Linked DNA regions of Homo sapiens: regions 2, 3, 4, 5, 6 and 7 are each linked to region 1. The links are contacts of gene promoters, found by promoter capture Hi-C in blood cells and fetal thymus (Javierre and others, 2016). All regions are on one chromosome and are shown on one strand. The core of a region is centred on a gene start or on the middle of the fragment in contact, and the rest is flanking DNA. Distances in the headings are between cores, read along the strand shown. Region 1 holds the start of CCDC184 (coiled-coil domain containing 184). Region 2 has its middle 40 kb from the start of ANP32D. Region 3 has its middle 38 kb from the start of ZNF641. Region 4 overlaps COL2A1 (collagen type II alpha 1 chain). Region 5 has its middle 15 kb from the start of ZNF641. Region 6 overlaps LOC105369750 (a long non-coding RNA gene). Region 7 overlaps ZNF641 (zinc finger protein 641).

What was found. Contacts are between HindIII fragments. The CHiCAGO score rates a contact against its expected background, and 5 or more counts as called.
Region 2: a contact is called between a fragment that was not itself captured here and the fragment with the promoter of CCDC184 in region 1, in 3 of 17 cell types (M1 macrophages, megakaryocytes and M0 macrophages). The highest score is 8.3, in M1 macrophages.
Region 3: a fragment that was not itself captured here is called in contact with the fragment with the promoter of CCDC184 in region 1 in 1 of 17 cell types (neutrophils); the score reaches 5.5 in neutrophils.
Region 4: a contact is called between a fragment that was not itself captured here and the fragment with the promoter of CCDC184 in region 1, in 2 of 17 cell types (megakaryocytes and naive B cells). The highest score is 7.0, in megakaryocytes.
Region 5: a contact is called between a fragment that was not itself captured here and the fragment with the promoter of CCDC184 in region 1, in 3 of 17 cell types (monocytes, neutrophils and M1 macrophages). The highest score is 6.1, in monocytes.
Region 6: a fragment that was not itself captured here is called in contact with the fragment with the promoter of CCDC184 in region 1 in 1 of 17 cell types (megakaryocytes); the score reaches 5.6 in megakaryocytes.
Region 7: a fragment that was not itself captured here is called in contact with the fragment with the promoter of CCDC184 in region 1 in 5 of 17 cell types (monocytes, neutrophils, M1 macrophages and 2 more); the score reaches 10.7 in monocytes.

What each region holds. Positions count from the first base shown.
Region 1 is chr12:48,181,415-48,185,454 of GRCh38, forward strand. CCDC184 (coiled-coil domain containing 184) reads left to right here and starts at 2,230. Exons shown (of 1, transcript NM_001013635.4): 1 at 2,230-4,040. The coding sequence starts at 2,709. The coding sequence ends at 3,293. The HindIII fragment of the contact is 3,853 bases long and covers 1-3,825 here.
Region 2 is chr12:48,430,536-48,434,575 of GRCh38, forward strand. It overlaps a transcript of C12orf54 not described here. Among named protein-coding and RNA genes, the nearest start is that of ANP32D, 40 kb to the right of the region's middle. The HindIII fragment of the contact is 168 bases long and covers 1,792-1,959 here.
Region 3 is chr12:48,386,735-48,390,774 of GRCh38, forward strand. No RefSeq gene overlaps it. Among named protein-coding and RNA genes, the nearest start is that of ZNF641, 38 kb to the left of the region's middle. The HindIII fragment of the contact is 2,449 bases long and covers 472-2,920 here.
Region 4 is chr12:47,987,975-47,992,014 of GRCh38, forward strand. COL2A1 (collagen type II alpha 1 chain) reads right to left here. Exons shown (of 54, transcript NM_001844.5): 17 at 1,787-1,831; 18 at 1,254-1,307. Among named protein-coding and RNA genes, the nearest start is that of COL2A1, 14 kb to the right of the region's middle. RefSeq lists an enhancer at 2,240-2,289. The HindIII fragment of the contact is 742 bases long and covers 1,609-2,350 here.
Region 5 is chr12:48,363,862-48,367,901 of GRCh38, forward strand. No RefSeq gene overlaps it. Among named protein-coding and RNA genes, the nearest start is that of ZNF641, 15 kb to the left of the region's middle. The HindIII fragment of the contact is 1,636 bases long and covers 827-2,462 here.
Region 6 is chr12:48,015,384-48,019,423 of GRCh38, forward strand. It overlaps LOC105369750 (a long non-coding RNA gene), which reads left to right. Exons shown (of 4, transcript XR_944904.3): 2 at 1,761-1,898. Among named protein-coding and RNA genes, the nearest start is that of COL2A1, 13 kb to the left of the region's middle. The HindIII fragment of the contact is 259 bases long and covers 1,511-1,769 here.
Region 7 is chr12:48,341,948-48,345,987 of GRCh38, forward strand. It overlaps ZNF641 (zinc finger protein 641), which reads right to left. Exons shown (of 6, transcript NM_001172681.2): 4 at 3,398-3,527; 5 at 2,652-2,765; 6 at 1-1,780. The coding sequence ends at 1,026. Among named protein-coding and RNA genes, the nearest start is that of ZNF641, 7.0 kb to the right of the region's middle. The HindIII fragment of the contact is 4,744 bases long and covers 1-4,040 here.

The sequences.
Region 1 (4,040 bases), core at 980-3,479:
CCCCCACTGGGACAGAGTCACTCTTTGTAGGTAGAAGGTAGGGATATACCTGAAGGGTGAATTGGCAAGATGAAATCTTCCATGTGAAGTGCTTGTCAAGAGATGTAAAGTAACAGACCTAGACAGAAAGTCTGAAAGCCATGCCAGTCTTTTCTGGCTATAGCAGAGCTCTCCTCGGAAGGATGAAAGCAGGGTTGGACCTATAAGCCCTGAGAACATGCTTGCTGTAGTATAATCAGAAACTTATGCTGTGTAAGCTCAGCTGTTTTCATGTGTTCTGTTTCTATTTCTAGTTTTCCTATAGTTTTTAATAAAGTCTCTTTGTAAACACCAGCCCACTTCAGCTGTGCTTATGGAAACCAAGGAAAAGCATTTCTGTCCTCTCTTGAGCCAGAGTTTCAGGAGTAATCTAAGGTGTTATTACCACGTGTGGGGTACAGAGCAGAGGTAGGAGTCCTAAGCAAGGTGAGAGTGCTGGAAATCTGTAGAATGAAGGAAGAAATGAGCAAGCAAATAGAATTGAATCATTAGTTTCAGAAAATACAATACTGTGTTTTTAAAATTTGTTCATATATTTGTTTTGGGAAATCAAATTTTTAATGGCTGCATAATACTTTATGTATCAGCAATTTTGCCTTAGTTTATTTAAACATTCTGCTGCTGGTCATTTAGGATAGTCCCCACTTGTTTCTATTTTAAAAGCAGTAAGATTGGTATAGGTCAAGCAGTCCTCTAGTGTCACAAAACTTTCCCTGGGCCAGCCTCACTCTTCATCACCAAGCACATAACCAGGGAAACCCAAAGGTAACACATTTGCTGTCACTGAACCGCCAGTCTACAAAACACTCACCTTTACGTAGTTCTTCTCTATCTTGAAGTGATATAGTTTGTTTCTCTTTCCCAGATTTATTCTTATGAACTTCATTTTTGGCTTCCGATCACTTGGCTTCCCTAATTTCCTAGGGTCATTATTAATTATTGTGCTCTGCCCAGGTGCTGATTCCTTCTCAATCTGCAATCATCTACGTATATTAAAGACAATTTTTCTTCTTCCTCCACCCTTCCTGCTCCACCCCTTAAATAGGGAAAGGGCTTGTCACAAAGGTTGGGGATACTCAGTGTATGTCTGAACTTGGGCACTGAAAGAGAGAGCGGGAATTACTCTAACACACAGTCCCCCCATCCATACCCTCCACACAACGGTCAACAGTTTACCTTTTCACCTGTGAGATGATGCAGACTGTTATTCAGAATTAGAAATAGTATTATAGATTATCCAGTCCAATTCCCTAACAGATGAGGAAAATGATGTGGCCAAGGTCGCTGAATGAATAAGTGGCAGAAACGAAACTGAATTCAGGTCTCCTAAAACCCACTACGTTTGGCTTGGGGAGTTCTGGATGAGAGCGTGGGACTTGGTGGTTTTTGTTATTCATTCAATAACTATATTAAGCATCTACATACTAGGTGCCAGGCACTATTTTAGGAGCTGGGGATTCCGTGATGGAGGGTGCAGGGGAGACAAAAATCTCTCCCCTTATGGAGCTTTCATTCTCAAAACTTAAGCACTTGGCCTCCCCATCTGGGACAAACTCCCAGAGACCTGCGTAGGAGCGGTAGGGTCTCATAAAGGAGGGAGTCCCATCCTTCCCCCGCTCCGGTGATTTCTATAGCTAGAGGGCTGATTTACTGCAGAAACCTCCGTAGCGCCCTCCTCCTGCCTCTGCACCGTCAGGCCCGGTGGGTCCGGCTCCAGAGCGCCACCGTGCCCCAGCTCAACTCTGGGATCATTAGCAACAGCCTCTCTACCCTCTCCGCTTTCCTGCGCATCGCTGGAGGACAGGGAGGCAGGACTCGACTTTAGCGCCATCCTCTGAGAAAGGAATGCGGGCTGGAAAAATCTTTCCAGGGCAGTCTCGCTGGGTCTCATACCCCGGCTAGGGGAGGGACGATCTCTCCCGGACTTGGAGGTTTCTGCAGCAGACGGCTCTCTCATACTTCCCTATTAAACATTGCGACCACACGCTCTTTCCAGCCTTGGCCGAAGCCACTGTAGCGTCCCCTCTCCTCCCCCCACCCCGCTAGTCCAGACTCCAGAGCCCCACTGCAGCTTCCAGCCATCCTCCCTTTTTCTTCGCCACTTCCTGGTTACCATGGAGACACACGTCATTTACGTGCCGTGCGTCGCCTTGGAAACAGAGGAGCATCCGCGACACCCCCGGGAGACCCACCCCAGCTGCTGCTGCCACACTCGCGGGCGCTGCCCGGTAATGGCCTGGGGGAGTCCCGAGTCCGACGCGCCGCTGGCCTCAGCCTGGACGCGGACCCCTCCGCGAGCGCGTCTGTGACCCACGGAACCGGCAGGCGCTCTCTGCTTGTGGCGCCCAGAGGGCGGCGCTGACACGGGCGCGATCCGGGAGGCGAGGCAGGGCAGGGCACTTTCGTCCCGGGGCGATCCCAAGAGACGCCGGCTCTGGGACCCTCGCCGGGTCCTCGTCCCGCAGCCTCTTCTCGGCCTCCCGCGATCCTGCCTGCGCCCTCTGCCCAGGACTCGTCTCTCACGTCGGCTCCCCGCCAGTCTCGGGAGCCTCCGCTTCCCTCGGCTCCCGCTAGCCCCTCCCGGGACCTCTCCCCCTCCACCCCCTCCCCCACCCCGGAGGCCGGGCTGGACGCGACCCAGAGCCTCCGCCACCCGCTTCTGCCACTCAATGGAGGACGGTCTGCTGGAGATCATGACCAAGGACGGCGGCGACATGCCGGCGCCCCTGGAGGTGTCCACCGTGCCGGCAGTGGGGGACGTGATCTCCGGGGAGTACAACGGCGGCATGAAGGAACTGATGGAGCACCTGAAAGCCCAGCTGCAAGCCCTGTTTGAGGACGTGAGGGCCATGAGGGGGGCCCTGGACGAGCAGGCCTCGCACATCCAGGTGCTCTCGGACGACGTGTGCGCCAACCAGCGAGCCATCGTCTCCATGTGCCAGATTATGACCACTGCGCCCCGCCAGGGCGGCTTGGGCGTGGTCGGCGGCAAGGGGAGCTTCCAGAGCGACCCCCAAGAGCCGGAGACTCCTTCGCCTGGGATCGGGGACAGCGGCTTGCTGGGTCGCGATCCCGAGGACGAGGAGGAAGAGGAAGAAGAGAAGGAGATGCCCAGCCCCGCCACACCCTCCAGTCACTGTGAGCGCCCCGAAAGCCCCTGTGCTGGTCTCCTTGGGGGGGACGGGCCACTTGTGGAGCCCCTCGACATGCCCGACATTACCCTGCTGCAACTGGAGGGCGAGGCCTCCCTGTGAGGGGACTCCGTGGGGCACTACCTTCCCGGGCTGTCTTTGGGTTTCCGAGTGCATGACGCGAGGGGGACTGAACGGCGCGGTGCGGCATGCTTCACTTGGACAGCTGCTCTTGTGGGTCAGGCAGAGAGAGACTCCCTCGAGGAAGGATTTGTAGGGTGAAGGACTTTGGGAGCATCGAGAATTCTTTCTGCCCAACTAAGCGAATTATAGCGAACTGCGGAAAGGTGAGGCTCCGGGAGAGGAAGCGCCCATCTCTGGACTCCCATCCATCCCTATCCTGTCCTTTCCCCCTTCCCAGACAACAGGAGAACCCGTGAATTGTGTAAATAAAATTCTGCTTTTTCTATTCTGAAAAAGGACTTACCTAGGACCATGGCAAATAATCTCTAACAATTTACCTGGAAATTAAGGAATTGGGGGTATTTTGTTCTGGCAACAGGAAATTTACCCTTCTGCTGAAATCCAAGATATTCAGTGCTCTGCAGAAGCCTCTCCCCCTCACAGATCTCTGCGGCTGCTGATTGGTAAAGGAAGCTTGAGGAGGGAACTGCAGCCCTAGGAATCTGGGTGAATGGGGTTCCAAGGGCCCCTGGGCTGGGAGGAGCTGGCTATGAATGTGCATGAAGACATAATAGCTCAACCTCTAGGATTTTGCATGCAGAGCGGATCCTGCCTTGTCACTGACTTCATCTGGGATTGCTTTTCCACTCCCTGGGGCTTAGAGAACAAAGAGCCCGGTTCACAGGC
Region 2 (4,040 bases), core at 626-3,125, 250 kb after region 1:
AAACATATGAAAATAATGCTCAACTAATGATCAGAGAAATGCAAATCAAAACCACAATGTGATGCCACCTTACTCCTGCAAGAATGGCCATAATTAAAAAAATAAAAAAGCAGTAGATGTTGGCGTGAACGTGGTGATCAGGGAACACTTCTACACTGCTGGCGGGAATGTAAACTAGTACAGCCAAGACGGAAACAGTGTGGAGATTCCTTAAAGAGCTAAAAGTGGAACTACCATTTGATTCAGCAATCTCACTACTGAGTATCTACCCAGAGGAAAATCAATCATTACACAAAAAAGATACTTGCACATGCATGCTTATAGCAGCACAATTTGCAATTGCAAAATCGTGGAACCAACACAAATGCCCATCAATCAACGAGTGGGTAAAGAAACTGTGGTATATATATACGATGGAATACTACTCAGCCATAAAAATGAATCAATTAATGGCATTCACAGCAACCTGGGTGAGACTGGAGACTATTATTCTAAGTGAAATATCTCAGCAATGGAAAACCAAACATTGTATGTTCTCACCCATATGTGGGACCTAAGCTATGAGGATGCAAAGGCATAAGAATGATACAATGGACTTTGGGAACTTGTGGGGAAGGGTGGTGGGGGAGGGATAAAAGACTACAAATAGGGTGCAATGTGTACTGCTCAGGTGATGGGTACACCAAAATCTCACAAATCACCACTAAAAAACTTACTCATGTAACCAAACACCACCTGTACCCTCAATAACCTATGGAAAAATAAAAAGTAAAAAAGAATGTATATTAAAATGTTAATTATAAAATTTAGATGTGATTATCTGGGTATTCACTATAAAATTCTGTTAACTTTGCTGTATGTTGGAAACTTTTCATTTTCAAATGAAATGAATGCTGAATACATGAGTCAATATTTAAAAATTATAAGAGAATATTATGAGAAACAAAATACTAATTAAATTAGATGAAAAATAGTGATGAAAATTACAAATCACCAAAATTGATTCACTAACAAAATATAAAACACAAGTGTACAATAATCATCAAAGGAATTAAATTAGAAATAAAAAATTTTCTCAACAAGACAAGAAATCCTTAAAATGTCAAAGATGAGTTTTATAAAAACCTTCGAGAAAGTGATCATCTCTTCTTTAAGCAAATATTTTAAGAAAATACAAAGATGAATGAAAGCATATTATTGATATCAGTATTGGATGTCTAGAATAGGCAAATCTATATACATAAAAAGTAGTTTAGTGGAATTCTAGGGCCAAGAATGGGGATGGGATTGGAGAGTGACTACCCATAGGTGTGAGATTTCTTTGGGGATGACAAAATGTCCTGAGATTGGTGGTAGTGATGGGTGCAAAACTCTGTAAATATGCTAGAAACCATTGACTTGTGCACTTTGAATGGCTGAATATTGTGATGTATAAATTATAATCTCAATAAAGTTCTTAAAAAGAAAAGATGGAGTGAATGCAATAAAAAAATTATAGTATCTCACTTATAAATACAAATAGGAAATTCCTAAGTTAAATACTGGTAAAAGTTAATTAAGTTTTTAATACTCTACCTAAGTAGGCTGATTCCAGGAATGCAACAATTCTTCAAAAACAGAACATGCACTGATACAATTTGTTATTAACAAATTAAATGACAAAAACCATATAACCATTTCAATGAATTTATTTTTTTCCAAAATGTTTTTATTGCATGCCTATTGTGTGACAGACACTATACAGTACTGAACAAAAGAGAAACAACCGTAGTCCTCAATAGAAGCAGAAAAAGCTTGTGATAAAATCTCACACCAATTCTTAGCAAAATATGTTTAGAAAAGAACTCTCCTTTCAATATAATCCATAGGTTCAGAAAACACAAACAAAAAAGAACTCTCTTAATAACTTAAAGATATTCATCAAAAATAGAACATCATCCTTAATGCTGAAACATGAGAAGCTTTCTCATTGATCCTAACAGAAAGATATCTATACTGGAGGTCCTGGCTGCTGCATGAACTTTAAAAATGAGATATATAAAAATTGCATACAGCCAGGCACACTGGCTCATGCCTGTAATCCCAGCACTTTGGAAGGCCAAGGTGGGCTGATCACCTGAGATCAGGAGTTCAAGTCCAGCCTGGCCAACATGGAGAAATCCCATCTCTACTAAAAGTACAAAATTAGCCAGGCGTGGTGGTACATGCCTGTAACCCCAGCTACTGGGGAGCCTGAGGCAGGAAAATCGCTTGAACTCAGGAGGTGGAGGTTGCAGTGAGCCCAGATCACACCATTGCACTGCAGCCTGGGCAACAAGAGTGAAACTTTTTCTACAAAAAAAAAAAAAGCATATAAAAAATCTTACCCTAATTTAAGATAAAATAATTAAAATGTAATGTTAAAATCCAATAGTATGTATAAACAAGACAGTAGTACTAGAAAGATAGTTCAACAAACTTGACAGATACAAGATCAATGTACAAAATACCACAACGTTCCTATACATCAGAAATAACCAAGTAGTAAATATATCTGAATTTTTAATTCACAATAGGAACAAAAAATAGATGGTATCTGGTAATATATCTGGCAAAATTTATGTGTGACCTTTATCAAAATACCTGTCACCAATGGCAACAGCAGATCAGCCTTGGTGAATGAAAGAAAATGTTGCCGTTTGCATAACCACCACCTTGCTCAGCCACGGCTACAGTGCTTGTGCGTTCATGGACCAGAACTAGGCTCACCAGGAAGGAAAGACTGACCTTTGCATGATAGGCGATTCTATTCAAAAAACTATTTTGAACTGCCTTAGCAGTGGGATCCCTCTGGTGAGAACTTATCCTAAATGGATTCTCCATTTCTTGACTCACAACTTACACATTCAAAGTACAGTTACTGTGCAACAAGCTTTTTTTTGGGGGGGGGGGGGGCAGGATCTTGCTCTGTTGCCCAGGCTGGAGTGCAGTGGCTCAATCTCGGCTCACTGCAAGCTCCGCCACCCAGGTTCACACCATTCTCCTGCCTCAGCCTCCTGAGTAGCTGGGACTACAGGCACCCACCACCACCCCTGGCTAATTTTTTGTATTTTTAGTAGAGACGGGGTTTCACCATGTTAGCCAGGATGGTCTTGATCTCTTGACCTTGTGATCTGCCCACCTTGGCCTCCCAAAGTACTGGAATTACAGGTGTGAGCCACCGCACCCGGCCAGCCAGAAGCTTTTAAAAATATTCTTTGCCAGCGGTGGAGCCAAGATGGCCAAATAGGAACAGCTCCAGCCTACAGCTCCCAGCGTGAGCAATGCAGAAGACAGGTGATTTCTGCATTTCCATCTGAGGTACTGGGTTCATCTCACTGAGGCTTGTTGGACAGTGGGTGCAGGACAGTGGGTGCAGTGCACCATGCATGAGCCAAAGCAGGGCGAGCCATCACCTCACCCCGGAAGCATAAGGGGTCAGGGAATTCCCTTTCCTACTCAAAGAAAGGGGTGACAGATGGCACCTGGAAAATCGGGTCACTCCCACCCTAATACTGTGCTTTTCCAATGGGCTTAACAAACGGCACACCAGGAGATTATATCCCACACATGACTCGGAGGGTCCTACACCCATGGAGCCTCGCTCATTGCGAGCACAGCAGTCTGAGATCAAGCAGCAAAGCGGCAGCGAGGCTGGGGGAGGGGCGCCCGCCATTGCCCAGGGTTGAGTAGGTAAACAAAGTGGCTGGGAAGCTCGAACTGGGTGCAGCCCACCACAGATCAAGGAGGACTGCCTGCCTCTGTAGGCTCCACCTCTGGGGGCAGGGCACAGACAAACAAAAGACAGCAATAACCTCTGCAGACTTAAATGTCCCTGTCTGACAGCTTTGAAGAGAGTAGTGGTTCTCCCAGCTTGCATCTTGAGATCTGAGAATGGGCAGACTGCCTCCTCAAGTGGGTCCCTGACCCCCAAGTAGCCTAACTAGGAGGCATCCCCCAGTAGGAGGGGACTGACACCTCACACGGCCGGGTACTCCTCTGAAACAAAACTTCCAGAGGAA
Region 3 (4,040 bases), core at 446-2,945, 200 kb after region 1:
CACATTTTACCTTCAATCCAGATATTAAATCTGAGGCCAAAGGAATATCAAATTACTCTATTAAATACTGCAACTTTCCTTCTGCCAAGCTCTCCTAAGCCCCTCATCCAGCTAATCTTCTTTTCCCTCATAACACTTAATGCTTTCTAACAGATACTTGACTTACTTAGTACATTAAAAAATTATCTCTGCCTTCTGGAATTTATATTATACTATATTATACACAGGCAAGGATATTTGTCTTTTTTTCCCCTACAGAGTGTATGGTAAACCCACCTGATAGCAGTAACTTAAGCATACCCTGAGAATGACCCAGTACGGCAGACACACCTGAATGTGTGTTCCAAGCTGGGGAATCCGGGAGTGGCCAGCCCAGAGATTTGTTCCTTGTCCATGAGGAACAGCTGAGCCTCCGGCTCGTCCAGTAGAATGTGGGCCATACAGGGGATCAAGGTCCCTTGTTTTGGGTTAAGCTTAAGTTGCTGGATGGAGACTCTTTTGTGGGGGGTGGGGGAGGGTGTTGCTAAGTGACAATGCTATATAAACTGCAGGCCTTTTGCAAGCAGTTGAAGTTCTTCTGCCCAGTCTGCCATTGCTGTACTGTATGTAAGGCAGTTCTCCTGCCCAGCCTGCTGCCACTGGGCCGTGCAGTTATCTTATCTAGTCCATCGCCATTGGACTCTCTCCCCTCTATGTAAGCCCCCAATAAAACTCCATGTCTCATTTGCTGGCTCTGAGTCTCTTCTTTGGCCTCTTGAACCTGGTGCCATCCCCACTGGAGTTGATAGGGGTTCGGCACAACACTGATGCACTCCCCAAAGCCAATAATTGTCACCGTCTTAAAAACTTTTGAGTTAGAGAAGATGATCAGGGAAGTGTCACAGTCCTAGAAACGCAGTAGACCCAGTTAGAAGGCTCTCAGTATTTGCCAAATGAAAGAATGAATGCCTCCTCAGCTATAATGTCTTCCCCTAACCCTCATGCTACCAGCTCTCTGCTTAGAAGCAAGACACCTCCCACAGTCTCTATCCTCTTGTACTCTTCCCCAGCCTTTCAGCTGGTAACATCCAAGATCAGGTGAGCCCTAGAGTTGAAATGAGTAGAAAGATGCCAAAGTGAAACTCTTTTGTGGGAGGCTATTTTTCCAAACAATTGGAGCTTAAATTCTTAGCACATTTCATCTGAAAGGAACATTCAGAGGCATGTTATCTGACTCTGTATTTTCACATAAGGACAATATGGAAGAGGGAAATGACATGTCTTGCACAAGGTCACGTAGCTAGGTGGTTTCAGAGCCAAGACCAAGCAAGTTGTTCTGATTTCTCATCCAGTTCTCTTTCTGATGCTCCACACATGGGCAATAGATATTTGTGGATTTAAGCAGTTTTGCATTGAGCCTGGTGTGGACTGGGCAGGACAGGAGTGACCCTAATATTTCTTGGTCCTGTGAGTTTGCAACATGTCTTAAGTTTCTACAGCAGCTACTATGGCGGTAAAGTGAGCACTAGACTCAGAGTTAGGAAGCCCTTGCTGATTACCTTGAAAAGTCTGTGAAAACTTTTCAAGACATAACCTTCCCAAATGCAAAATGGGTATAAAATTGGAGCAAATGTGATTAAAATCTTCATAAGACATACTTTTAATAAAAGTTTTAAAAATATGTATAAGACTGAAATAGAATATGGGTAAAATAAATATTTGAGATCTTTTGGTGTCTAGATTGTGCACAATTTTCCCCATGAAATATTTCACCTGTGCTGTAAAATTATGTTTTCAGTAAAAGCATTTTTTTTTAAATAGGAAAAGTGCTTTCTGGCTCCCAGTTCCTCTCAGCCAGACTTCCAAGCCTTCTTCATTTTTTATTCTCTCTGGACATTCACTCTCCTCTCTCTTGCCAAGACATGCTGACTCACCGCTTGTATTTTATATTGCTCTCCCATCAGAAAAATACAAACATTTTTTTCTTTCCTTACCTCCTTCAAACCTCATTTCCTTATTCTTATTGCTGTTCCCACCTACTTACATACTCATATGATAATAACTATCATTTATTTTATGCATCATGTATGTCAGACACCATAACAGAATGCTGTTGATCTCATTTAATTCTCACAAAAACTGATAGTACAGGTATTTCTGACCCCATTTCTGTAGGTCAGGAAGGTTAAGTGGCACACTCAGTCACACACCTTACAAAGTGATGGAATTGAGACTCATGCCCAAGGCCCTTTGACTTCAAATCCTATGTTTTTACTGCTTTGCAATACTGTAAAAGTGTGCTTATGGGAAAATCTTTCTTGGTTTGGAGACTATGCATTTTCCTGAGGAGACTTAGGAGTCTAGGCAGGAATGTGAAGTGGCCCTGGGCATTTGAGTCATTGACCATGCCTGGAACTTCTTCCTCACATTCTCCCAATGCTCACAAAGATATGGGCATGAGGAGTCTGACCTCTTGGAAGAAAGATGGGGACTTCTGAGTCACGGAAAATTCCAGGAAGAGAAGACTAAGGTAAAGCCAGATGGAGGACTGAAAGCAACTCAGACTTAAAGAAGCGGAACTCTACAGGAATGGGGAAAATGGGGTATCAGAGAGGGCACTTCTAGTTTTCCCTGACTTGTTTCCCTACCTGAAGCATTGGGTGGTGATGCATCAAGTAAGTAACACGAGAAGGACTGAGATTTATTCATACAAAGAACAGTCCTCTTCTTGTCCCTTTCCTAAAAATAGCAATAGCAAATTTAACTTTTCATTTTTGATCTTTCTCACTCTTTATCATACTCTTTCAAGAGCTACTGTGCTATATTAGAAACACATCTGGAGGCAGAGCATGACCTCAACTGAACTCTAGAAAGCCCCAGGATCCCAGACTCTAGTGAACTTTCCAAGTGTGTTGCATGGAACGCAAATATGCTGCCCCCAAGCTTCAGGGGCCGCCACAAGCACTGAGAGGCTAGTCCTGTGTGTCGGTCTCTCCCTGTCCCTGCCTCATGCACTATAATCACCATGGCTCTTCATTTATTTGTTTTTATGTGTGTGGCTTTTGCAGTGGGTTTTATTTTAATGAACAAAATATTTAGCTAATAAAGCAACTTTTAAAATGAGTCACTTAAGGAATCTTTGATCAGAAGTAAGGAAAAAGACTCTTTTTTTCTGGTCTCTATATTCACCACTCCACTCATCTTTCATCTCAAAGAAAGCTTTTTTATTTGTTTGTTTTTGTCCAGATCCTGGTACATGAAAAAACAGAATAGAGAAACCCCAATGGGCAAGTGGGTAGAGAGATCTAACTTAGAGGACAGTCACTACCTGATTTTGTGACTTTGAGCAACAATATTACCATCCTGGGTCCAGTTTCCAATTCTAATAGTTTATTTTTAAAAAGAAATTTATAACTAAGGCCCATTCAGATTCCCCCAATTCGATGTAGCTCTGGCTCACTCACCTCCTCAGTGAACAGGGCTGTCCCGGGTCCAAAATACACACTGCATTTCAAGCTAGGCTGTCAGCTGCCTCCACAGCAGGAATGCAATATGTGCAAAAAAACTCTCTCCAGCAGTAATTGTCTTCCACAGAGGGCTACAATTGCATTTCCCACAAAGCACACTTAGCTCCCAGTCAATGCTAGGTCTGAAGTCATGCTCAAACTCAGAGCAGTTCACTTGAAGGTCACTTCTGGGTAGAGGCTAAGGTGCTGTGGCATCCAGTGGAGGCTGTCTTGAGTCTTTTGTTCCCAGCTAAGAGAATCTGGTATTTCTTATTTTACTCTTTCATCTCCTTCAATCCTGAGGAAAGCTCACGGCTAGTTTGTGTGACTTATCTGTATTTCTTCATGAATTTGTTGGTAATCTTGTGCCAGATGGTCCCTTGTGGTAATCTTGTGCCAGGAGGGATGTTGAGTAAGTACCCAAAGATAGCACCATTCTCCTTGAGCATCTCCTGGAACCAACCATGTTCTTTTTCTTCTCTTGTATCTGCCTTTCCATCAAGACTTTCTACTCAACTTATTTGTAGAAACTACTTATGTTTCTCCATTTAAAAA
Region 4 (4,040 bases), core at 730-3,229, 190 kb before region 1:
CACAGCTACATACTACAGCAATGGGCAACCTGCTGTTCCATCGACACCATCAGAAAAGCGTGGGCTGGGGACCCTGCCATCCTGGCACCGTGGGATGATGGACGGACACCGCTCTCTCCCCCACCTCCTGTTTTTCTATTTTATTGAGGAGCTGAGGTCCCTTCTAAGTCTCTGAACATCCCAGCTCAGAGCACCACCTCACTCCCATCTGGCTGACGGGTGAACAGTGACACCCTGGCTCCGGCCCCAGTCTGTTCTCAGTAAGCCAGAAAGCCAAGGCAAAAGCACATGGGGACTCTGCCCCTCCCTGCTCTCAATACAGCCCAATTCCCCTTAGCGGGCGCCTCTGGCAAGCCCCCTCCCCACAAAATGGCTTGTGCTTTTACTTTCATTTTTTCCTGAAAATTACAACCCACTCTAGATGGCAGAGTCCCTGGGGAGGGCTGCTGACCTGGAGAGAGGGCAGAGCCTCCTCAGGTTTCTTCTCAGAACATTCCTGCTTCACTGTGGTAATTATTATTTTCAAAAGGTCAGCCCCCCTCACCTTCCGCTGTCCCTCTTCACAATGGGTCTCCTTCACCCGGCTCCGGGACCTCAGACACTGTCTGGTTGCCATGGAAACCCCCAGGAGGGGAAAAGCAACCTGATGCCAGTGACACATGGAGGCTCCTTATTCATTCCCAGGGACGTTCACACTGGAATCCTTCCTGGGCTGCGAGGCCTGTCCCTGAACTGGCTGGCCTCCCACTGGCCTCTAGTAATCCTCCAGAGAACTCCGTTAACATGGTTTGGAAGAGCCAGGCACCCCAAATAAAGCAGAAACCCAGAGGGGAGCAGGGGCTCCCTGCCTGTGCCCTTTTCCCTGCCCAGTTCCCTCCAGTGCCCGTCAGGGCCCCGAGCTTGCTCAGCTGTTGGGTCTCCCCTAGGTTTGCTTCCCTGTGCTGCCACTCCTGGCCTTCTGCCCCTGCCAGGCCTATGGTGTATCCCCGTCTTCTTCTCTGTCCACCTTTCCCCACTCCAAAGTTGTAACTGGATCTCCCACATTTTATCTTCTGTCTTACTTTCCCTCCAGGTGAGACTGCGAGTGTCTGGCTTTTTGCCCTGCCTGGATGGAGGGGCCAGTGGGTGGGGTGGTGGGGAGCTACTTCTCAGAAGGGAGCAGGTGGTTGTTGAGGGAGCAATGAGCAAGGGTTACGGGGAAAGGACAGCTTCTCGGCACCCAGAAGTTCCTGACTGGACAACAGGGCACGTACCTTGGCTCCAGGAGCACCAGGGAAGCCAGGACCACCAGCAGGACCGACAGGACCCTGGAGAGAGTAGGCGGATGAGAAGAGAGGTGAATGCCAGTTCTGGCCTCCAAAGCGAGCCACCCCGACACCTCACACTCCTTCCCTCCTCTGTACTGATTTCACTCCATATCCATTGTGGCTAAAAGGCCTTGGATGAAAATTGTCCCCATTGCCAGCGTCCCCAGGAAACTTTGCCTGGCTTCAGAAGGCAAAGCAAGTTTCTGACTACATCTGTGGTGAGAAGCAGAAACTCCTTTGACCTCCCTCCTCTAAAAAGACTGCTGAAAGGATGGCTGAGGAAAATGAGCCCATGCTTCAAAGCTTGTTATCGATATGCTCAATTGATATTTACAAACTTCTTCTCTTTCCTCCCCCTTTCCAGTAGACATCAGAGTGCTGCTGTGGTTGCACCCAATACACCCTGCAGACTGCCTTGGGCTGCTTAACGGGACTTAAAGCACAGCAACAATGACCTGCTGAGGATGAAATGAACTTACCGGAGGCCCTGCGGGGCCTGGCTGACCATCGTTGCCTCGGGCACCCTGTGAGCAAGAAGGAAGTGACCATGAGAGGTGCCCACAGGCCCTGTCCGTCCCTGCTCCCAGCCCACCCTTACAGAAAACGAAGGACACACTGTGCCTGGGGTGTCCCAGGGCAGAGCACGAGGATGGCGAGGTGTGGGCTGCAGTTTTGGTGTCTGTGCGAGTGGGTGGCCAGAAGGCAGTAATGGGCTTCTTCTAATCTTTTTTTGTTGTTGTTTTTGAGACGGAGTCTGGCTCTGTCGCCAGGCTGGAGTGCAGTGGTGCGGTCTTGGCTCACTACAACCTCCACCTCTCAAGTTCAAGCAATTCTGCCTCAGCCTCCTGAGTAACTGGGATTACAGGCATGTGTCACCACACCTGGCTATTTTTTTTATTGTTATTTTTAGTAGAGACTGGGTTTTGCTATGTTGGCCAGGCTGGTCTGGAACTCCTGACCTCAGGTGATCCACCCGCCTCAGGCTCCCAAGGTGCTGGGATTACAGGCGTGAGCCACCGCACCTGGCCCCTAATCTTAAACAAAGCTTAAATCATTTTCTCTTTTCTTCAACTTCAGTTCAGACCCCAAATATCCGTAACTTCAAGGCCAAGTGATCATTTAAAGACTGAGAGAATTGAGTGTAAGGAAATGAAACAGCGAGGCAACCATGTGGACTCAGTGCTTCCTGCCTGCTCAGGGGGAAGCGCTTTCAAGGCTTGGTTAACCTCTGTGGTTAAGGCTTGGTTAAGGCCTCCTCTTGGTTGACTCCAGGTTGCCTCTTCCTCTGGCCCATCCCCAGACAGCCTGCTCTTACGGAAAACAAAGATGCCCATAGGATGTCTACCATTGGCTCCCTGATGGGGCAGGGCACCAGCCACAGCTCAAACACTACATCTGAGCTCAAGCCCTAAGAGGCTTTTGCTTACAAAGCAAGGCAAGGTTGCCAGCTCCTTCTCTAGGACTGGACTTGGAGGGGGAGGGTTTTTTCTGCCAAGTTTGTGGTGGCACCCCTCAAATGCTCTCTCAAGGTTCCTTAAGGCCCAGGGAACTCTTTACCGAAACTCTGGGGGCCACAGGCTGGGTGGAGCTGGGCCTAGGGCCTGACTGAGCAGGTCAGGGGGGTACCTTTTCCTGCTGAGTCCTGCCTGTCAGTCTCTGCCTCTCCTTAGAAGCTAAAGAAGGATGCTTTAGGGGGAGCTCGTGTTTTAAATACAACTCAACTCTTCTTCCTGGCTGGGGTCCATTTCTCCTAACGGAGACTCTCCAGATTGGCATTTAAGAGGAAAGCAAGAGAAAACTTAGAAAAAATGTCAGCAGGAACATAAAGCTTCAGGATTGGCCACAGCCCCTCTGGGCTGGCCTGGCTGCTTCGGGAAGCAGTTCCTTGGGGAGCTCTGGAGCACCCTCTCCCCAGGGGTCAGCCAGCAGGAGGGCCCAGCCTGGGCCTGAGTGAAAGGGAGCTGCCATGCTGCTCTGAGAGGCCAGAACTAGGCTGACATCTGCCACCTCTCCCTGCAGCAAGTCTGGAGAGAGGATACAGGCCCAAGGGAGGGCACATGACCACAGCAGGCAGACACCAACCCAGCCCAGTCTCCAGGCCAGCCTTGACACTAGATCAGCACTTGGATCTCCATGAGCCTACCCCGTGTCTGGGGCCTGCACACCCCGGACACTGCACAGCCCCCTTCTGGAAGTCAAGGCTGAGAAGGCTGCTGGGATACCACAGAGCAGAGGCCTCGCAGAGCAGACTCCAGAGAGGAGTCTGATGGGAGGGGAGAGGGAGGAGTAGCAAAGAAGGGCTCAAAGGCAATGTTGTCAATCTTCTAAGCCAAATCCTACACACGCTGCCAGCCTAACTACCGTGCGGACAGGAACCAACAGAGAGAACCAAGAAGCAGGGCGGCTGTGCCCAGGAAGGAGGGAACAAGGACAGGAGATGGAGCTTGTCTTTAGCCCATGCAGACTAGGGCCACCGCAGCTCTGAGCCTCGCTAAAAGGCCACAAGCCAGCATCCTGCTAATCTGTAGAAACGGCAGTGTTTCTTGGCAGCCCCAGTGCTCTCTAATCCCCTCACACAAAGTGACCCTGGGGCAAGGCACTTCAGCAGCTCTGGCTGACAAAGGGGGGTCGAGGCTTCTGCTTATTTCACTGATCTGCCTTTGAGGGAAACTTCTGCCAAACAGACACATTAGCTGGAAAGCAGCACAACGGAGTGAAGCTGCTTTATTTTGG
Region 5 (4,040 bases), core at 395-2,894, 180 kb after region 1:
GTCTCGATCTCCTGACCTCATGATCTTCCCACCTTGGCCTCCCAAATGCTGGGATTACAGGCATGAGCCACTGCTCCCAGCTGTCATCAATTTTTCAAGTGTATACTCGTTTATTTCTGGCCTAGTCTCTATTATGATCTCATTGGTTTATTTATCTCATTGCAAATACCATATTATCCTTATTATAAAACTTTATGATAAATTTTGATATATAAGAAGGAAAATCTGTTCATCTTATTATTATTCAGGGTTATATTGACTTCTTAATTTTATGTTCTATCTAAACTTTAGAGTGAGTTTGTCAAATTTGCAGATACTATGATATCTTTAACTTTAAAATGCTTAAGCGTAGCAGGATATTATATTGTGTTAGTTACTTTACACTATACTGTAAGGGAGGTCAACTGTCCTAATCTGGAATATATGCTCATAGTGTGGTTAATTAGCATGTAAGTGACACATTACAGTCAAGAACTACAAGCACTTTTAACTGTATTTCTCATTATTCCTTGAAGCACTTTCAGTATGGATTGCCTCATTTATTTCTGATGCAAAAAAGTAGTAAGGTTTTCACCTTTTCAAAATAGATGTGTGGTGGAGGATCGCATAGCATAACTCCATAACTAAAGAACATTAACATCAGAGCATGGTGCTAATTATAGCAGAAAACAGGCTGCACTCAGAAATAGAGATATATTGTGAATTTATTTAGAATAGGTTAGCAATGTTCTTAGCGTGAAAATTCCAAGATTTGTTGCACAAATAAACAGTTTAAACAAAATATTGATCACAGCAGAGTACTCTTAGGAGTCAAAAACTTCATACAAGCTTTTCTTGATAGAGTGGCAGAAGTTAGTGTTTAATTTTTAGAAAAAGGCAGACTGCCCAAATTTCAGGTCACACCAGCTTATGCTTATCCTTTCATCTGGGCACACACATGCACTGCCAGTTCCTATCTAAATGGAAACAACAAAAATCAGCAGATAAATGTCCACCATAGCTTTAAAAATATCTTTTGCACCTGTGGTTATGTCCTCTTTTTATTCCTAATTTTTTTTTGTATTTTCTTTTCTTTTTGCTCAATCTTCCAGAGGTTCTTTTGGAGAACAATTTTTCAGTTTAAAAATTATTTCTGTTAAGTATTTTCTTTCCATTTTATTAATTTCTTCTAACATTCTTTAGATTTATGCTCTTTTCCTTTTAATAAAGTCTTAATTTGAATACTTACCTTATTATTTTCATTTTTCATCATATAAGAATATAGTTCTCTTTGTTGCTATAGGTATGTGCCACAAGTTTTGACATGGAGAATTTTCATTATCTTTCATTTCTAATTATTTAAAAATACCCAATGTTATTTTATCTTTATAATGCTTGACTTATTTAATTTTAAAACATTGCAAGAGTCTTCTTTATCTTTTTAAAACTTAATATAATCAGAGAATTTGATTCATGATACTGATTTTTAGAGACTTGCTTTATGCCCATTTCACAAAAATTTCATGAGTGCTAATTTTTTGTTTTTGTTTCTGTTTTTGTTTTTTTGAGACGGAGTCTCGCTCTGTCGCGCAGGCTGGAGTGCAGTGGCGCGAACTCGGCTCACTGCAAGCTCCGCCTCCCGGGTTCATGCCATTCTCCTGCCTCAGCCTCCCAAGTAGCTGGGACTACAGGCTCCGACCACCACGCCTGGCTAATGTTTTTGTATTTTTTTAGTAGAGATGGGGTTTCACCGTGTTAGCCAGGATGGTCTCAATCTCCTGACCTCGTGATCCGCCCGCCTCGGCCTCCCAAAGTGCTGGGATTACAGGCATGAGCCACCACGCCTGGCTTATGAGTGCTAATTTTTAAAAACTCTGTCTGATTATTTGATGCAGTGCTCTGTATATTCTATCAGATCAAAAATTGTAATTAGGCTGGGTGCAGTGGCTTATGCCTGTTAATCCCAGCTCTGAGAAGTCAAGATGGGAGGATTGTTTGAGGCTAGGAGTTTGAGACCAGCTTGGCTAGTATAGTGAGACCCCCATCTCTATAAAAAATTAAAAAATTAGCCAGGTGTGGTGGTGCATGCCTAGAGTCCCAGCTACTTGGAAAGCTGAGGCAAGAGGATCACTTGAGCCCAGGAAGTTGAAGCTGCAGTGAGCTATGATTGTGCCACTGCACTTCAGTCTGGGCAACAGAGTGAGACTCTGTCTAAAAACAAAAAAAAAATGTTGTATAGTTTGATTCTTTTTTTCTTAGTTTTGGTCTATGCGGTTTTTTGTTTGTTTGTTTTTTAAGAATGAGGGAGGTGTATACATGTCTTGTACCTGCTGTAATAAATTACCACAAACTTGGTGTCTTACAAACAAAAGAAATTTTTTTCCCTCACAGTTCTGGAAGCTAGGAGTTCAAAACCAAGGTAACCACAGGGTTGTGTTCCCTCTGAAGACTCTGTGGAAGGATTCATTCTATGCCTGTTCCCAAGCTTCTGGTGGTTGCTGGCAGTCATTTGCATTCCATGGCTTGCAGCTCCAATCACTCCAGTCTCTGCCTCTGTCTTCACGTTGCTTTCTCCTCTGTGTGCCTGAGTTTTCTCCTCTTTCTTCTGTCGTAAGGACATGTGTCATTGGGTTTAGAGCTTACTGGATAATCCAGGATGATCTCAAAAACCTTAATTATCAATTTAAAAAGCCATTTGCCGGTAACATTCACAGGTTCCAGGGATTTGAGCATAGACATATCTTTTGGGGGGCCACTACAGGTATATGAAAATCTCCCAGTTCATTTATGGTTTTGTTACCTTTTTCTTATAATTATGTCCATTTTTGCTTTATATATTTTAAGGTTATATTAGGCTGATACATGTTTTGATGAAACAACTTCTCTGTGAAATAAAACTTACCATTTTACAGTAATGCTTTGTGCCCTAAGCTTTAACGGCTATAGTCTATTTGGTTTGACATTAATTAGCTTTTATTTTGTTAATATTTGTATGTATATCCTTTTTTATAATTTTATTTTTAACTTTTCTTTGTCATAATGTTCAAGGCATGTTTTGTGTATAGTATATAAATTGAAGTTTAAAAATTAATCCTCCCTGAAAATATTTGTCTTTACATGGAGATTTTAGTTTATTTACTTTTTTGTTATTATGGATATTTTGGAATTTTTCTGTCCTTTTATTTTGTGCTACATATTTGACTTGTTCTCTCTAAGTTGATTTATTTTTTTCTCTTTATGCCTTCGTTTGGATTGAGTGGTATAATTATCATCCCCTCACTAATTCTGATATACAGCCTATTTTTATTACTGTAATTGTAACCTAGAAATTTTAGAATGCATATCTGACTTTACAAACCTAAAAGTTAATCAGCACCTCCCTTATTTTTTAAAAAAAGCTCCAGATCCAATACCCTTACTGGTGAATTCTTTTTTTTAAATATGAACTTGTTTAGGATGAATTCTATTAAATGTTTTAGAAATATCAGTGCAAAATGACCTCTTAGAAAATAGAGGAGAAATTACGCTTCTAAACTTGTTTTATGAGACACATATTACCTTAATACCAAAATCTGAGAAGAATATTACAACAAATGAAAGTTACAGACCAATACACTCATTAATACAGATGCAAAAGTTATAAACAAAATATTAGTAAATAATGCTCAGCAATATATGAAAAGGACAATACAGCATGACCAAGTAAGGTTTATCTCAGGAATGCAAGGTTCGTTTGACATTTAAAAAATCAATATAATTTGTCACTTTAAAAGAAATTCATGACAAAAAGTCTTAGTAAACCAGGAATAGAAGAGAACTTTCTCAATGTGATAAAGAGAATGCCCACAAAGTCTACATTTAGCATCATATTTACTGTTGAAATATTGAACAAGGCAAAGATATTAGCTAAGACTTGGGAATAAGGCAAAGATGTCAGCTCTCACCACTTCTATTGTAAATTGACCTGGAGGTCCTAGCTAGTGTAATAAGGCAAAGAAAAGAAATTAAAAGCATTATATTGAAAATGAAGAAGTAAAACTCTGTTTATTCTGTGATGCATT
Region 6 (4,040 bases), core at 390-2,889, 170 kb before region 1:
CCTGCCACCAAAGTAGCTTCAATCCACATTTCAAGAGATGGCAACTTGAATAGGAGTTGAGAGACAAGGAGATGTTCTAAGACAGCACTGCCCCAAAGAACTTTCTGTGATGAAGGAGAGTCTCTCTGTGCCATCCAATATGGTAGCTACTAGCCACGTGTGGTGACTGAGCACATAAAATGTGGCTAACACAGTGAAGGAACTGAATTTCTAAAGTTTAAGTTGTTTTAAGGTTTAATTAAGCAGCAGCCTGTGTGGCTGTTAGCTACCATGTTAGACAATGCAGTGTGCTCTTGCTACTTGAAGTGGGGTCTGCAGACCAGCAGCATCTCATCACCTGGGAGCTTGTTAGAAGTACAGTAGTTCGGCCGGGCGCAGTGGCTCATGCCTGTAATCCCAGCACTTTGGGAGGCTGAGGTGGGCAGACGACCAGGTCAGGAGTTCGAGACCAGCCTGACCAACATGGTGAAACCCTGTCTCTACTAAAAACACAAAAATTAACTGGGTGTGGTGGCATGCACCTATAATCCCAGCTACTCAGGAGGCTGAGGCAGGAGAATCACTTGAACCCGGGAGGCGGAGGTTGCAGCAGTGAGCCGAGATTGCGCCACTGCACTCCAGCTTGGGTGACAGTGCGAGACTCCGTCTAAAAAAAAAAAAAAGAAGTACAGAAGTTCAGGTCCCACCCCAGACCTGCTGAATCAGAATCTTCATTTAATAAGATCCTGAGGTCATTTGTTTACATGTTAAGGTTTCAGCACTGGTCTGGGTGGGGCAGTAGTTCCCAGTCCTGACTGCATATTGGGATCACTTGGGGAGCTTTTGAAGATCCCAATGTTGTGACTGCACCCCAGAACAATTAAATCAGAATTTTTTTTGGTGGGGGGACCCTGGTCAGTGTTTTTTAAGCCCCCCATGTGATTCCAATCTGTGCCTAAGGTTGAGAACCGCTGCTCTCAAGCTATGCAGCCAGCCAAGGGCACACTCAGATGGTAAGTCCATGTGAGGGCCAACAACTCACTTCTTAGCCTCTAAATTCGCTTGTTGGACCCAGCTAACTGGGAAGCCAAAGGGACTTATTCATCCTCAGCAAGTGTAAGAATTGGCTGGGGCTTATGTTTGTTTCCAACATCTAAGTGAGATGTTCATCAGGTTTTCACAAAACGTGTCTAAATACCACACCACTGAAGGGTACAGAAGCAGCCTGCATGACTGAAGGCTGGGAAGAGTTGATTCACTTCCTCACTCTGGGACCTGGATAACCCTGGCATCCCAGAGCAGTCCCGATGAAGGGAGCCATTCTTCCTGTCCAGGGTGGAGGCCACTGTTTTTTCCAATGTCACTTGTCTTTAGCTGCCCTCCTGCAGCTCGGCAAGAATGCGAGGGGCACTGGGGCCAATGAGAAGAGGTGGGTTTTCCTGAAGAGCGGGATTCTCTCATCCTGTTGATCTGAACAGGACCTCAGAGGCCCCAGCCACTTTCTAGTGATGAATGACATTTGCAGAGATGAAGCTTCATCTCTGAGCTGGTGAGGATTTGGGAAGAGCATTCTGAAACCAGCCTCTCGGGAAATGGGTTGCATGAGCAGCCAGGCCGTCCCAAGGGGTGGAGCTGCAGCCCCCATGTGGAACATGGGTTTGAAGTCTCACTGAGAAATGTTATCCTGGACTTGGGTGATGGGGAGGTGCAAGTCATTCACTCTGGAAATGGGATTCCCTAACTAGATGATTATTAACTAATTTGTCTCAACATGTCCACAGAATGTCCTAAGCTTTGTATTCACAGCTGTTCTCATGCATTCATTCCATGCCGGCCTTAGAGGACTCGGTCAAGACAATGGTGCCCTCAGGAAGGTTACGAGAGAGCAAGCTGTGCTGCTTTGCCCATCTTGGGATGAGGTGAGAGGGCAGCACTGGTTGGGTCCCAGGATACCGGGCAGGGCACCTCTGTTGCTGTCCCTTCCTCCTATGGGGTACCAAGCTTCTCTCAGATATCCTTAGAAAGCTTTGTTAGCCAGCAGGTCGCTGGGCCATAAGCCACATGTGAATGAGGCTCTCCCTGTCCCCTGACTAGGTCTGAGCACAGTTCCAGGGGAGAAAGAGGGAGGAGGCGCGGGAGCATTGTCCCCCTCCTGTCGCTGGTAGGTGAGCTTGTGTCCAGTGGAAACAAAGAGAAAGCTGGCCAAATGTTGTTATCTCCCCCAGCTGCCTGGATTCTATTGCCATCCCTTGTCCCCATGAAGACTCCCTGTCATCTCACCCGCACTATTGTCTGGGCTGTACAATTAGCACTTTGTTAAATGTTCTCTCATTCTTCAGTGGCACTTCATTACTGAGCCATAAAACAACGGGGCCCAGCAGGTTCCTGGGCAGTCAAATGGTCCAACCCTCTTGACTTAGAGATGCGGAAAATGAGGCCTTGGGGACAATGCTGTGTCCAGCCATAATGGAGCCCACAGCAAAAGGAAGAATCAGTAATATTGATCCTATATTTATTTAAATGTCTGGTATTTTGTTCATTATAGATTTTTGCATTAATTTTTATTTTTAAAATGTTACATTAAAATAGTCTGTATCTTGATGACTGAGTATTTTTGGTGCCTCTTAAAGTGTGCACCCTGAGCCTGGCCCTGACAGGGACAATAGGGAGTTGCCCAAGGTGACACTAGTTTTGATCAAGAGGTTAAAAGAGAGCTTGGGTCTTCCAACTTGTCCACTTCCTTCTTCTCTGTCAGCTTCAAGTGCAAAGTCCTGTTTTTCCAAATAAGTAGAGAGCTCCAGCAGGCAGGGTGGTGAACTTGTGGAATAATAACACTTTCACATGGTTATTGCCCAGCCAAAGAAGCAACCATTTGAAAATTCAAGAAATTGCAGATTTATTCCTTAAATAAGGCACTGTTGTTGAAATAGTATCAAAATATTGATACTGCAATGAGATAAGAGACCTAGGAACACATGCCAGAATGTGGACCGTTGGCCCAGCCCAATCCTCTCTCACCTGCACTGCTTCAGAAACCCCTTCCTTTCCTTCCAAACCCAGCTGACATCTTTCCAAAGAGTTTTGTGTTTCTGATCGGGCTTCGCTGCACTTGTGTTTCTCCCACTCATCTGGTTCTCAGGGCATAGAACACAGCCCCAGGTACACAGAGAGTGAACAATCTTCAACAACTGGGCACCAAGGATCCTGCTCCTTTTTCTTTGTAATAGCTGCATGACATGGTCTTCTCCTGTATCGATGTACAAGCTGCCTATTGATAGACTTTCAGTTGCTTCTTTTTGTTCTCTCTCTCTCTCTTGTTCTCTCTTTTCTTATCTTTTTGGCCCCCTTTTTCTCCAGTGTTCTCCACTGCAGAGTCGTGTAATTCCCTCACAGTTTTCTCAGAGCGAGTACATATTCCCTGCCCAGCATCAGCGTTGCTTGCCATTAATGTCCTGTATCTATAGGGATGACCATGCCCCCTTGGAGGAAAGGCTTGGAACTTACCAACTTATGGAAACTTACGGAAATCATCACTTGGTATTGAGATTTTGCAGGGAACACACTCCTTAAAAATCTCCATGAGTGTGCTGTTAAGAATCCCATAAAGAGGGAGAAAGGTGGGAAGTGAGTGAAGCAAGGCTCAGCCGCCACCACGAACAAAGTGGGGTCCACTTTGCATCTGCTGCAAAGGAAGGAACGGACATTTGGCCTGTCTCCTCTTCCTTTATTGTGTCATGTTCTTTCCTTTACTCTTCTCTTTTTTAAAACAAGAAAATCATAATTTTAATATTATTTTAAAAATAGACAATACATTCACACAATTCAAAATTCCAGTAGTTGGCCAGACACAGTGGCTCATGCTTGTAATCCCGGCACTTTGGGAGGCTGAGGCAGGAGGGTCGCTTGAAGCCAGGAGTTCAAGACAAGCCTGGGTAGCATAGTGCAGACCCCATCTCTACAGAAAATTTTTTTAAATTAGCCAAGCGTGGTGACGCACATCTGTAGTCCCAGCTACTTAGGAGGCTGAGGTGGCAGAATCAATTGAGCCCAGGAGATTGAGG
Region 7 (4,040 bases), core at 1,037-3,536, 160 kb after region 1:
AAACCCCATATAATCCCCACTACCCTCATCCCCAGAACACAGCCCCTAGAAAACCTAGCTTGTACAGTTTGCACATAGCATGCTGTCTTCAAAGACCCTGCACACAAATACACAGACACATAAAGACAGTCAAGAGGAGAGAGGGGACTGTTCAAGGGGATAAAGTTTTTTTTGTTTTTCTGTTTTTCTGTGTGGGCCAGGGCTATTTGGGGGTATTAGATCATCTCTTAGCCTTGTAGTGTGATCTCTCAGCTGGATATATGTATGTGCAGGATGAAGGGAGTAGGAATAATGGGTAAAAAGGTTATTTTTTCAGCAGGTGAGGGTGAGAGGTGATGTATATACTGCTGATTGGCATAAGGAAGACAGACCCACACATGAACAAGGTCTGGCCCCCCTGGCTTTCATATGGATAAAAAAGGGGGCTCTGGATGCCTGATCACTATCTCTTGTTTCCTTGTTACTCTCTAACCCAGTGTTCACCAGAGTGTTTCATAGTCACCAGTTCTGTGGGATGTAAATAGAAAGGATACTGAGGTCAAATACATTTAGGAAACACTGCCTTAATAGAACCTTCAGTTGGGTCTACTGCAGAAATTTTCAGAGCCTTTAATATTCTAAAATGGCCTTTCTGTCTATATATAGAGAAAATATAATAGTAACAGTATGCAAGAGTGATACTCAAAATGTTTAACAACTGGTATAGCATAGACTCCAACCAATCAGAATGGATTTCAGCCATAAACTGCCAGTACCACTCTCCTCTTGAGAACAGCTCAGGCTGAATATCAGCCCATGTAGGATGCATTGCTTCCCAAAAGTTTTGCCCAAAGAACTCTATTTTTATGTGCTATCTCACAGAACTGGTGAGAAATGCTCTGGCCATTGCTGGGACCTCATCTTTCTAGGGATGGGGTCAGGGCTTATGATTCTGGCCACTGGGGTTCAGGAGAACGGCAGCCCTGGCAGTGACTCCTGGTAGCACCGGCTGATAGACTTGACCATAGCTGTAGTGGAAACAGATTTCAAAAGACAGATGTTCCTCTGTCCCAGCTGTTCCGGGGACTTTGTCCCTGGTGGGTGAGCAGGTGCCTGTCCAGGTGATGTTTTCGGCCAAAGCTCTTCTCACAGCGAGGGCACTGGAAGGGCTTCTCCCCAGTGTGGGTCAGCCAGTGTCTCACAAGGTGGTGCCTTCGGCCAAAGCTCTTCCCACATTCAGTGCACACGTGACACTTTGGCACTGGTGGGGCACGCTGCCGTTTCCTTGTGCCAGGGCTCTCTCCAACCTCTTGGCCTTTGCAGGATTTGCCTTCTGCATGCACTCTCTGGTGGCTGGCCAGATGGGAGTTGCATCGGAAATTCTTACCACACTCAGAGCACCTGCTGGTCTTGTCATGTAGGTGGGTTTTCTGGTGCCTGATGAGGTGATGTCTTCGCCCAAAGGTCTTCTCACACTTGAGGCAGCTGTAGGGTCTCTCCCCAGTGTGTGTTTGTTGATGCCTGGCAAGGTGGGAACCCCATACAAACTGTTTCCCACACTGGGGGCATGTGTGGGGTCTTAACAGGGAATCCATCTCTGTGCTACACAGCAGGTTTGAGAAACTATCTTCCTGAAGAAAAGGGGGCCCCAGGAGCATTCCTCTGGAGCTGCTGGGCATGGAATCCCAGCTCTCATCATGCTCCGGGTTCCAGAGAACAGTATCTTCAGACACGCTGGATAACATTCTGGGAGGTTCTGCTTCTAGTTCAGGGGTATCCCCCTCATGTTCACTTCCATCTCCTGCGGAGAAGGGGAAATACCAACCCCAAGAGAAGAGTCACAAGAGAGTGCTTGAGGCCTAAGTCACAAATGAGGTTGTCTGATACCTGCCAGGGCCCAGACTTGACCCCAGAAGGGCTGAGAGAACATAGTCTAATGTCGTACAAGACAGTGCAATAGATATAGAGGTTAAAAGCCTAGGCTTAGGAGGCAGATTACCTAAGATGGAATCTCAGCTTTCCCACTTAACTTCCCTAAACCTTCATTTCTTCTGTAAAATTGGAATAATACCTCTCTCTCCGGCAGTTATAAGATAGATAGCACAGAACCTGCACATAGTTTAAGTACTTAGTAAATTGTATATGTTATTGTTATTATTTATTACCATTATTTATTTACTACTGTATATTACTATTAATCAGCATCTTTCTATCTAAGCATAGATGGAGAGAATTACAGAATGTGCCGCAATTGTCACTGGCTGAATGACACCTGTCGGCAGTCCTCAAGGCATTCCTGAAATGGGTGGGAGGTTGACAACAATATCAACAATAACAACAACTAACATTTATTGAGTGCTTATTATGTGCTTGGCACTGTTCTATTCTAATATTCTAATATATTCATATATTTAATTTTCACAATAATTTACAGATGAAGAAACCAAAGGGAGTTTTATTACTTTTCCAAGGTCCCACAACTACAGCCCAGAATTCAAATCCACAAAGTGCCTGCTACATCATTCTATTACACTCCCTTGCTTTTGAAGAAAAAAATCTCTAAACCTTTTGTCTCTGGAACTCTCTGAGGCAGAGGAGGGATTAAACGAACATGGAATGATGATGTCCCGAACTGTGAAGGAAGTGGCTGAAAGCCTATTCTAGGTTCTTACCTGTATATGTGACCCTCAGAATGTCCCTCTCCTCTAAGTCCTGGGGGTCAGGGACCCATTGTTCTTCTCCTCCTTCTAGTTGAGAAAGCATGTCCAGTTTGGGAATTGGAAATCCTGCTCATGGGAAAGGAAAATAGAGCTGTCAATTAGTTCAACAGCAATTCTATATTTCTGAAAAAAAAATACAAAAAACTGTTTCCTATTGTTTGGAACTCTAGACAAAAGAAGGTCAAGAAAGAAACATATCCCCACCCCAACCTCTTCCCCCACCCATTTCTGTTAAGTCCCTCTTCTCTGCCTAGAAAATCACTCTCCTTCCCAATGAACCTGTTTTCTTCCACTCAGATACTTCCAGCCCAGCTGGCCTTTCTGGGCGTAACTTCACTTTAGTCCTACTACGACAGTCCTACTCCCTGCATCCCTATCTTCCTCTACATGGTTCCCAAGTTTACAAGGACCCAGTTCCAGTTCTCTCTGCTTTATGAGAACCTCCTAATTCCCAACCAAGAAGAACCTCAAGTTCTACTCCACAATTAAGCATCATTTGCTTTTTTACTTTTTTTTTTTTAATGATATTTACTCTCATTCTCTTGGGATTGGCCCTAGTGTTCTTTCTCCAGCGGAAGCATAGACAGATTCCCTGCCACATAAAGAGTCCTAGACAGACACTATCCAATAGCCCTGAAGCAGATGGCTCCGTCCTCCCAGAGTCCAATCTTCTAGTGGCTGGAGAAGGTCATGCTTACTCAGAGAGACTACTATCCCACAGTTTTCCTGCATGACATATTCTCCATAAAAGTCTGTCTGAGAGGGGTCCAGGCTCCGCCACTCCTCCTGAGAGAAGCACAGTGACACATCCTTGATGGTTACCAGGCCCTGAAACAAAATGTAGCATCTTCTGTCAGCAGCTGTTTTTTAAGGAAAATGTGATTCAGTATGAAAGGCTAAGTTAGTAGAGGAGAGAGGGTGAGAAATGATCTGAGAAAAGAGCTGCCCAGAAGTCCCTGGGTAGGGCACATAGTTTTGGTAACAGGGAAATGAGGAGAGGAGTAAAGGTAGATGGTCAAGGAGTGAGTGAGTGTAATGTTACTGGAGGAATTTCCCAAGTGGGGCCATGAGAAGCTGGAGGCACCATAAACTCATCACCACCTCTGTTTAGCTACAGGTGTCTACTCAGTCACTTCTCCCTGGCCTTACTCTTTTTATGAAGAAATTATGTACCATTTCCTCCTTCTTCCACTGGACCCTGCCTTTTCTATCAGCACAAAATGCTACAGATAAAACATTCTTTCTTGCCTCCCTTGCCACAGCATTTTTTTTTTTTTGAGACGGAGTCTCACTGTCGCCCAGGCTGGAGTGCAGTAGCACAATCTTGGCTCACCGCAACCT